Regions from separate parts of the Homo sapiens genome. Here region 1 is linked to region 2. The links are contacts of gene promoters, found by promoter capture Hi-C in human tissues and cell types (Jung and others, 2019). All regions are on one chromosome and are shown on one strand. Each heading gives the region's core, a stretch centred on a gene start or on the middle of the fragment in contact. The rest is flanking DNA. Distances are from core to core; before and after follow the strand shown. Region 1 holds the start of MSI1 (musashi RNA binding protein 1). Region 2 holds the start of ACADS (acyl-CoA dehydrogenase short chain).

Region 1 (4,427 bases), core at 489-2,988, 360 kb before region 2:
CCGAAGGGTCGTTTCCAGGCAAGCTAGAGCCTTTCTCATAAATCCCCTCCGTGGGCAAAGCAGGTCCCTGTCTTCCACACAAAGCAAGGAGCTCATTGACCAAAAGTCGGGGGAGGAGGGAAGGAGAGAGGGAGGGGGCTTCAAGGGATGCTTTGCCATTGGTCTGGATGAAGAGGGGGTGTCGCAGAGCCAAATACTAGTTAGAGTTCACAGAAGCCACCGGGTGGGTCAGTGCTACCCTGACTCACCCAATTTGGGCTGGGGGAGGGACCTAGCCCCACCCCAAGCTCTGCTCTGAGGCATCATGATTAGTACTTCTAGGGAGAGGGTGGCGGCTGCCTCTCCCCTCACCAGGACTAGGGGAGGGGGGATGTAGCATCTCATGGCAGGCCAGGGATTTTTCTCCTCCCTCTCCCCCCCAACTCTAGTGACAAAGTTTCAGAGCATGGCAGCCCTCTTACTCAGAAAAACTCCCTCCTTCCTCATGGACCCCGTCCAGCTGTCCCCTGGGGAGAGTCCTGACCCTCTCCTCCGGCAGCCTCCCTCTCCCAAAGGACCCCCGAAGCCCCGAGGGCCACTCACTGTTTTGGAGTCGAGCTCGTGCCGCGATTGCGCCAGCACTTTATCCACCCCCGCCTGGTCCATGAAAGTGACGAAGCCGAAACCCCTGCGCGCCGTAGTGAGGGAGAGGCAGATGGTTACAAGGCAGTGAGTGGCGGGTGGAGGGGGGCGAGCCGGGAGCAGGAGGAGGGGGTGAGGGGCTCACCTGGATCTCTTGGTCAGGGGGTCCCGCATCACCAGACACTCCTTCACCTCCCCGAACTGGCCGAAGTATTCGCGCAGCCCTTCTGTAACCACACACCCGCCTTCGGACCAGCCCGGGCCCCGCGCCCTTCCCCCCCCCCCGTCCTTTGCCCCCGGTGACCCCGGAGCGGCCCGGCCGCCCCCGCGCCAAGCTGCCCGCGCGTTCTCCACTGCCGCCGCCCCCCACCGCCCTCGCCCCGTTCCCGCTGAGCCTCCTGGCGCCCACCGGGGCCCCGGGAAGCCGAGGGCCGAGCTGGGCTGGAAGGGGGACGGCTCCGGCCGGGTTCCCGCCGCTCCGGGAGCAGCCTCACAAAAGTTTGAGCCGCAGGTGCGAGCGGAGTTGGCGCTGCCGCCGGCGGGTCCCGGGGGCCCAGCCCACCCCCCGATACCCCCTGAACCCCTCATCTGCTCCCCTCCACCCGCTGGGCCGGGTGCGCTCGCGGATCGCCCTGCGCTCTCGGGGTCTCCGGGCGGGGCGCGAAAGAGGGCGCGAGGGCGCCCGGGGTCAGCAGGGCGCAGGGCCGGGCTGGGGTGTCCGGGTCCGGGGCGCCGGGGGGTCCGGGGTGCCCTGCCGGACCGGCGGGCGCTCCCGGGCTCGCTCACCCTGCGTAGTCTGCCAACTGAGTCCCCCGATGAACATCTTGCTGCGGGAGGAGGAGAGACACAAAGGGCCCGCGTGAGCGCCGGGCGCCAGGGCGCAGGGGGCGCGGGCCCGGGCTCCGGGGAGGCCCGGCCGGACCCGGATCGGCCATGTTGGCGGGGCCGGGGCGGGCGCGGGCCAAGCAGGCCGGGCCGGGCCGTACCAGGGGTCGTGCGGCGAGTCCGGGGAGGCGAGGCCGGGCTGGGGCGCGTCAGTCTCCATCGGGAGCCGCGGGCGGCGCGGGCAGCGGAGCGGCGGCGGCGGCGGCGGCGGCGGCGCTCGGCGCGGGGCAGATGAGGAGCGCGGCGAAGGGGGCCGGACGGACAGGCCATGCTGCCCCCTCCCCCGACCCCGCTCGGGCGGGCGGGCGGGGACGGCCGAGGGGAGGGCCCGCCGGGGGCCGACCTGCCGGCTCCTCCCCCCGCCGCCCTGCGCGCATAAAGCCCCGCGCTCGCCCGCGAGCCCGGGCGCCCGCGGAGGCGGCGGCGCCGGGACCCCCTTCCCGCGGGGCTCCTGGGTCTCCGGGGCCGAGCGAGACCCCCGAATCCCGGTGCGGGCCGGGACCAGGGCGCGGCCGCACCCCCCACCCACCCCGGCGCGGGGGCCCGGCCGCGGGAACGCCCTCCCGGAATGAAGCGCTTCCCGGTGCCTTCAAGGTAGCTCGGTTCCGGATCGGGAACCCCCCCGGTCTTCCCTCTCAGGTCCCTGCTGTCCAGAATTGAAGAGAACCCCAATCTCCTCGGGTCGGGCGGGAGATAGCCCTAGTGCTCCCCAGTCCCCACATGCTCCATTTCCCCAGTCGGAGCGAGAAGCCGCCCTCAGAGCCCCCAGTTTCCTCCCAACCTAATTTACAGCCCCCCACCCCCACCCCAGGGCTCTAATTTAGAGCCCTCGCTCCGTTCCCAGGATCCCATATCCAGTTTGGGGGACCCACTCAGTGCCTCGCGTCCCGAGTGGGGAACCTCCATCAGCACCCCAGTAGAAACCGTATCCTCTTCCCCAATCCGTCCTCAGCCCTTGGTGTCCAAAGTGAGAGTCCCCCTTAGTTTCCCCAAATCCCTGCCGTCCACATTAGTGGACCCTATGGTCTGTTGAGAAAATCCCGCGCCCCAAGCCCGGGTTCTCAGTTTGCCGCCACCCCCACCTCCCGGTGTGAGGAGTCTCCCCTGGTTCTCTCCCTCCCTGGCCGGTTTTTGTGAGATCCATTCAGACTCCTGTCCTGATTCGGGAAACCCGGTTCCAGACACTCACCACCCCCACCACACCGAGGCTGGAGGAAAAGGCAGTGCCTCTTAGAGCCTCCTGTTTCCAGTTTAGGAGCCCAACGCCTCAGCTGTGCACCGTCCCCTCCGAATGACCCCCTTCTTTTGCAGAGGTCTAAGCTCCACCCCATCCCATTGGAAGAGCCTAAACTACCTACCCACTGCATTTGGAATGACTTCCCTCAGTCCCTCTTATTTTGAGGCTACTCCCCGTGAAGGCAAACACCTTCCTTTCTACCCCCATCTTCTGGGTCTCTGGGATCCCCCAGTACTTGCACCCAAGGCTCCTTGGAGTCACCTTACGTACCCCTAAAATTCCCTCCCTCCAGCCTGGGAACAACCCTGAGAAAGTATTCTGGTTCACCAGGGGAGCTGCGGGGCCACTCTCCTTATCCCCACCTCTCCTTATCCCCGCCTCTCCATATCCCCACCTCTCCATATTCCCACCTCTCCATATCCAAGCCTTAGGACCCTTCACTTCCCCAGCTGAAACCAGCCAAAAAAGGATCAAACCAGGAAGCTTAGGTGGCCAACACCCCTTCTCCCCATCCCTGCTGGGGGTCTCAGTGCCACACAAGCCCCTCCCTCCCAACTCACCTTCTACTCCTTCCCCCATCCCTACCTTAATCCATCCGGTGTAATCCAGTGACAACCCATGTTGACAAGCCCTTTGCTGTTCACCTTCACATTCCATCCTGAATTCAACACCTTTTATTCCTGGGCATCATAACTCTGACCTCTGGAAGGGTGCCCATCCCCCTCTTGATAGCCCTCCTTCCCTCTCCCCACCCCAACCATCAGGCAGAGAAGAAAGTGAGAGACTTACAGTAATGGTTTCCTTGGGGACCTTCTGGGAATGCTCAGCAGGTATATCCTGCCACCCTGTGAGCATAACACTAGAAACAAACTTGCTTTTTCCTGTTTGTGTCCCCTACTCTGCCCCACAGTTTCTCAGCATCCCCTGGACTGGGGACTGGAGGGCCACCCACACAAGGCATTTCTTACCATTCCGACACAAAAGCATTCCAGTTTGTGTTGTAGCAGAGACACAGATGAGGGTGAGCAGGTAGCCTCTGCGGTATTAGGGAGGTGACTCTTCTTAGGTCTGAACTTAAAAAGGGTCATTGGAGAGGTGCGGGGAGTAGGGATCTTCCAGTGTTCCTGGACTTTGGTTTGTGTGCTGGTGCTGCTGGGCAGATGAGCTTGAAGGATAGGAAATGGGTCCTTTCCGGCAGTGGCGACCTACCCACGAGAACATGCCTCTCGACAGGGATCTCCTTCATCCTTCTCCAGAAGAGAAGAGGAAACAGAAGAAGAAACGCCTGGTGCAGAGTCCCGATTCCTACTTCATGGATATGACATGCCCAGGATGCTATAAAATCACCATGGTCTGTAGCCATGCACAAACGGTAGTTTTGTGTGTTGCCTGCTCCACTGTTCTCTGCCAGCCTACAGGAGGAAAAGGAAGGCTACAGAAGGATGTTCCTTCAGGAGGAAGCAGCACCCAAAGCACTCTGAATCAAGATGAGTGGGAAACCATCTCAATAAACACATTTTGGATTAAAAAAAAAAAAGGAAATGGGTAAAGGCATCTGTTCAGAGTCAGCCAATGCTGTGTAAGAAGTAGCTTGAGATAGGATCCATGTATTAGCATATTCATTCAGAATCTGAGGAGGAAGCGTCTACCTCTTTTGGTCAGTAGCTTGTTTGTATCACAGTAA
Region 2 (4,378 bases), core at 242-2,741:
CTGAGTTCCTTGTGTTTGCAGCCAGGTGACTTCCCCCACTTCGCCTCTTGCAACCACTATCTGATTCTGTCTCTATTGGAAAACTTGGATACTTTTAAAATGAAATTTGAACGTTCATATTTACAGTCACAAATTCTCAAGAGTCTGGTTTAGATGCTCTGTGGCACCTGAAGCAATTATTGGCCTTTGCTCACAAACACAACTCACTTATTTCTCCCTTTTCTCCTGCTTCTTCATCGTTTCTTCCACCCAGGGCTGGTTCCCAGGTGGGATGACGGAAAGGTGAGGAAGCCCTTAGAGCATTTGCCAATGGGAGCCATTCATTTGACTTTAAAGTACTGAGAATTTAGAGGCGTTCTTTTAAATGCATTATTTAAAAAGAAAGGTAACACATTAAGGACTTTGCTGCATCTTTTGATTGGCTTTCTTCTAGGAAGTAGTGACCGAGGTTTCCACTTTCCTCCAAGAGGAAGAGACAGAAGTTTTGGCAAATAGGTCAATGCTGGGAACAGATGCCTGCCTGGCTGAGTGCTGGGAAAGAAAGGCAGTTGGAGGGATGTGTGGGTGCCTGGGAGGGCGTGGGTGGTGCCCAGGAGGCTATGGGAATCAGAATCACACTTGCACAAGAGAAGACCCTTATGGGACAAGTAAAATCAGCATAGTTTCTTGGGCGGGGCAAAGGTGTCCTGATGAGGATGCTAGGGGTCAAATATGTGTCTGGGTTCTGCCCCAATCGGGAATGAGACACAGTACTGAAGTGGAACGGGGGTAGCATCTCCACCCACCTTCACAGCCTCTGGGGAAAAGAAAGCTTTCCTTGCAGCCCAACTCCAGGGGCCTAAATATTGAGCACCAACACAAGACAGGTCCTTGAGCTTCTCGGAGCGAGTCGGGGAAGCAGATAATTTCAGATGCAAAGTGCCTTGAATAAACAGAACGAAAGATAGAGAGCCAGAGGGGGAGAAACGGCTTGGTGTGGTCAGGGCAGGCATCCATGAGACCTAAACGAAGAGGGGGCATTCCAGACAAAAGGAACAGTGATCACAGAGGCCCCGAGTCAGGAACCAGCTAAGGGTCTTAGAGAAGAGCTGCCTCGTAAAGCTAAGCAACAATAACCAGGGAACGGTGGGCATGGGCCCTGATAGACAAGGCAGGTCTTGGCTTTTTAAGCCATAGAATTGGATTTTAGGAGGGATGGGCCCGCCGACAAAGCCAACAAAGTTTTAACCCGAAGATCGCTATCTTATTTATGCTTTAAAAAGACCTCTCTGGCCTTTCTGCGAAGCTCTATCCTTAGCTTTCTCTTGTTAGCATTTTGATTAACGAATGTGGGCACGAACAGCCAGCTGACCGACCGCGCGCGCAGTCGAGCGTCGGTTCCTCGCCTTGGGAGGGACCACTGGAGGCCCCGCCCCCTGGCCGCGAGCGCACCTCGGCCCCGCTCCCGAGGCCCTACGGGCGTGGCCTCTGTCCCGGGTCCCGCCCCCCAGCACTCCGGAACAGCGCGCTCGCAGCGGGAGGTCGCGAAGCCTGGGACTGTGTCTGTCGCCCATGGCCGCCGCGCTGCTCGCCCGGGCCTCGGGCCCTGCCCGCAGAGGTGAGTGCGCTGGGGATCCGTACGGCGGGGCTTCAGCCCGCGTCTGGCCCAGCGGGCGGAGGTCCTGGCGGCCGGCTCTGTCAGAGCCGCTGGCAGGCGGAGCCCCACTCCGGGAGCGCTCACGGCCTTTGCCCCAGTTCTGCTGCTCCTTGCGCCGACCCAGCCCGGCCCTTCAGGCGTCCCTGGTTCCTGCACAGACCCCTACCCCCCGATTGACCCCAGCCACCAGCCCAGTTCCCAGTTCCCATATCTCCCTCCCTTCATTTCACCCCCACTAGAGGTTCAGGGTGCGTCCTTCTTCCGGAGCCAGGCCTGGGATTGAACCAGACCCGCATCTGTGACCTTGGGCAAGACAGCCCCTCCTCAGCCTCGGTTGGCCCATGTGTAAAATGTCCACAGAGAAAATCAGAGTTGTTGGGAGGATTAAATCATAGGGTATGTAAAGCACTTCGTGCCTGGCGTGTAACAGGTGTTCCACAAATGCTCGTTCTTGCTGGTTAATACAGTACCTTTCCCATCTTACGTGTCTCCAGTTGTAGCAGCCGTGACACATATAGCCACGGCTTCCTTTGCCTGGCCTGAATTACAAGGGGAACGCTACTGAGAACTGTGTTAAGCGCTAGTTAGTCTTTCTTTCGCACTCCGAGGAGCGGAATACTATTCGCCTCCACTTGTTATAGAAACGGAGGCTCACTGACGTTTAAAACCCTTGCCTAAGGTCACAGAGCTGAGGTCTTATTACTGTTGGTATTATACTGAGGACTGAAGGATGTAGTGTATGGAAATGTCTAGTGAGTGTACTAAGCATTCAGTTAGTATGGGGTTTTCAGTGGCCGCCATGGACATTTTGGGCTGACAGTTCTTTGTTGTGGGGGCTGTCCTCTGCCTTGTTGGATGTTCAGCAGGGATCCCGGACCCCTATCCACTGGGTACCAATAGTATTCCCCTGCTCTAGTTGTGACAACTAGAACTGGCTCCAGACATTGCCAGATGTCCCTTGGAGGGCAAAATCCTCCCTGGTGAGTTAGTGGGTCACTAGGATTCTTGGAGACCTCCTGCCTCCTCCTTCCACTCACTTCTGCCCTTGCCGGCAGCTCTCTGTCCTAGGGCCTGGCGGCAGTTACACACCATCTACCAGTCTGTGGAACTGCCCGAGACACACCAGATGTTGCTCCAGACATGCCGGGACTTTGCCGAGAAGGAGTTGTTTCCCATTGCAGCCCAGGTGGATAAGGAACATCTCTTCCCAGCGGCTCAGGTGAGAGTGCAACCTCAGCAGCCCACGATAGTGGTCTGCCCTCTGCTACTGGATGAATGGTGGCAGTGACAGTCAGCGGCACTCGGACTCTGGTAGAGGAACCCCAAAGCAGGGCCTGGAACCCAGAAAATGCTCTGGAAGTTTCCCTTGTCCAGCCTGTGGCCAGTAGCCAGGACTTAACTTCTGGGACAACAGTAATATGTGGTGGATGGTCAGTTGCTTACTGTGCCAGCCACTGTGCTCATTCTAAATAGTGCCTTTAGGGTGTTTGGCATGCACTAGGCACTGTTCTTGAGATGGGTTATCTCATCTGTTCCTCACAACGGTCCTGTGAGGTGAAGGTACTATTCTTATTTATTTTTTTGAGACGGAGTTTCACTCTTGTGGCTCAGGCTGGAGTGCAATGGTGCGACCTCGCCTCACTGCAGCCTCTGCCTCCTGAGTTCAAGTGATTCTCCTGCCTCAGCCTCCCAAGTAGCTGGGATTATAGGCGTGCACTGCTCTGCCCCGCTACTTTTGTATTTTTAGTAAAGACGGCGTTTCACCATGTTGGCCAGGCTGGTCTCAAACTCCTGAATTCAGGTGATCTGCCCACCTCGGCCTCCCAAAGTGCTGGGATTACAGGTGTGAGACACCACGCCCGGCCAAAGGTAGTATTATTATATACCCCATGGACTCAGACTTGTGAACAAGTTAAATAACATACCCAAGGTCATGGAGCTCATCAGCGGCAGCCTGCTCGACCTATTTTCTTTTTTATTTACTTATTTTTTTTTGAAATGGACTCTCGCTCTGTTGCCCAGGCTGGAGGGCAGTGGCGCAATCTCAACGCACTGCACCCCTCTGCCTCCTGGGTTCAAGCAATTCTCCTGCCTCGGCCCCCAGTAGCTGGGATTACAGGCGGGCACCACCACGCCCAGCTAGTTTTTGTACTTTCAGTAGAGATGGGGTTTCTCCATGTTGGGCAGGCTGGTCTCAAACTCCTGACCTTAGGCGATCTGCCCGCCTTGGCGTCCCAAAGTGCTGGGATTACAGGCGTGAGCCACCGTGCCCGGCCTGCTTGAACTGTTTTCTCCCCTGAGTTTCCCATCAGCGCGCTCCCTCCCGTGCCACTGTGTTCTTCCATTTGCATTCAGTCTGTCTGCAGCTACGCGTTGAAGATGTTACTGCCGTACACGCTGACCTAAAGATGTCCAGCACCTGGTGTAAACACTCAGTAGTAGATAGTTGTTTAATTAATGATTTGTGAAAAGTCAAACCTCTCCGGCCTCTTCTCCTTGCCTGTTTTTTTTTTTAATTTTAATTTTAATTTATTTTTTATTTTTAAAAATTTTTTGAGACAGTCTTGCTCTGTCACCAGGTTGGAGTGCAGTGGCGCGATCTCGGCTCACTGCAACCTCCGCCTTCTGAGTTCAAACAATTGTTTCCTGCCTCAGCCTCCCGAGTAGCTGGGATTACAGGCGCACACCACCATACCCGGCTAATTTTATGTATTTTAGTAGAGACGGGGTTTCACCGTGTTG

What was found. The method cuts DNA at HindIII sites, captures the fragments that hold promoters and counts their contacts. A contact is called where the count stands out against the background at its distance.
Region 1: a contact is called between the fragment with the promoter of MSI1 here and the fragment with the promoter of ACADS in region 2, in 2 of the 25 tissues and cell types used here (IMR-90 fibroblasts and lymphoblastoid cells).

Annotation. Positions count from the first base shown.
Region 1 is chr12:120,367,426-120,371,852 of GRCh38, forward strand. MSI1 (musashi RNA binding protein 1) reads right to left here and starts at 1,739. Exons shown (of 15, transcript NM_002442.4): 1 at 1,608-1,739; 2 at 1,408-1,448; 3 at 767-848; 4 at 583-667. The coding sequence starts at 1,666. It also overlaps the pseudogene RPS27P25. The HindIII fragment of the contact is 19,353 bases long and covers 1-4,047 here.
Region 2 is chr12:120,724,335-120,728,712 of GRCh38, forward strand. It overlaps ACADS (acyl-CoA dehydrogenase short chain), which reads left to right and starts at 1,492. Exons shown (of 10, transcript NM_000017.4): 1 at 1,492-1,597; 2 at 2,692-2,855. The coding sequence starts at 1,552. RefSeq lists an enhancer at 1,164-1,665 and a silencer at 1,302-1,811. The HindIII fragment of the contact is 31,377 bases long and covers 1-4,378 here.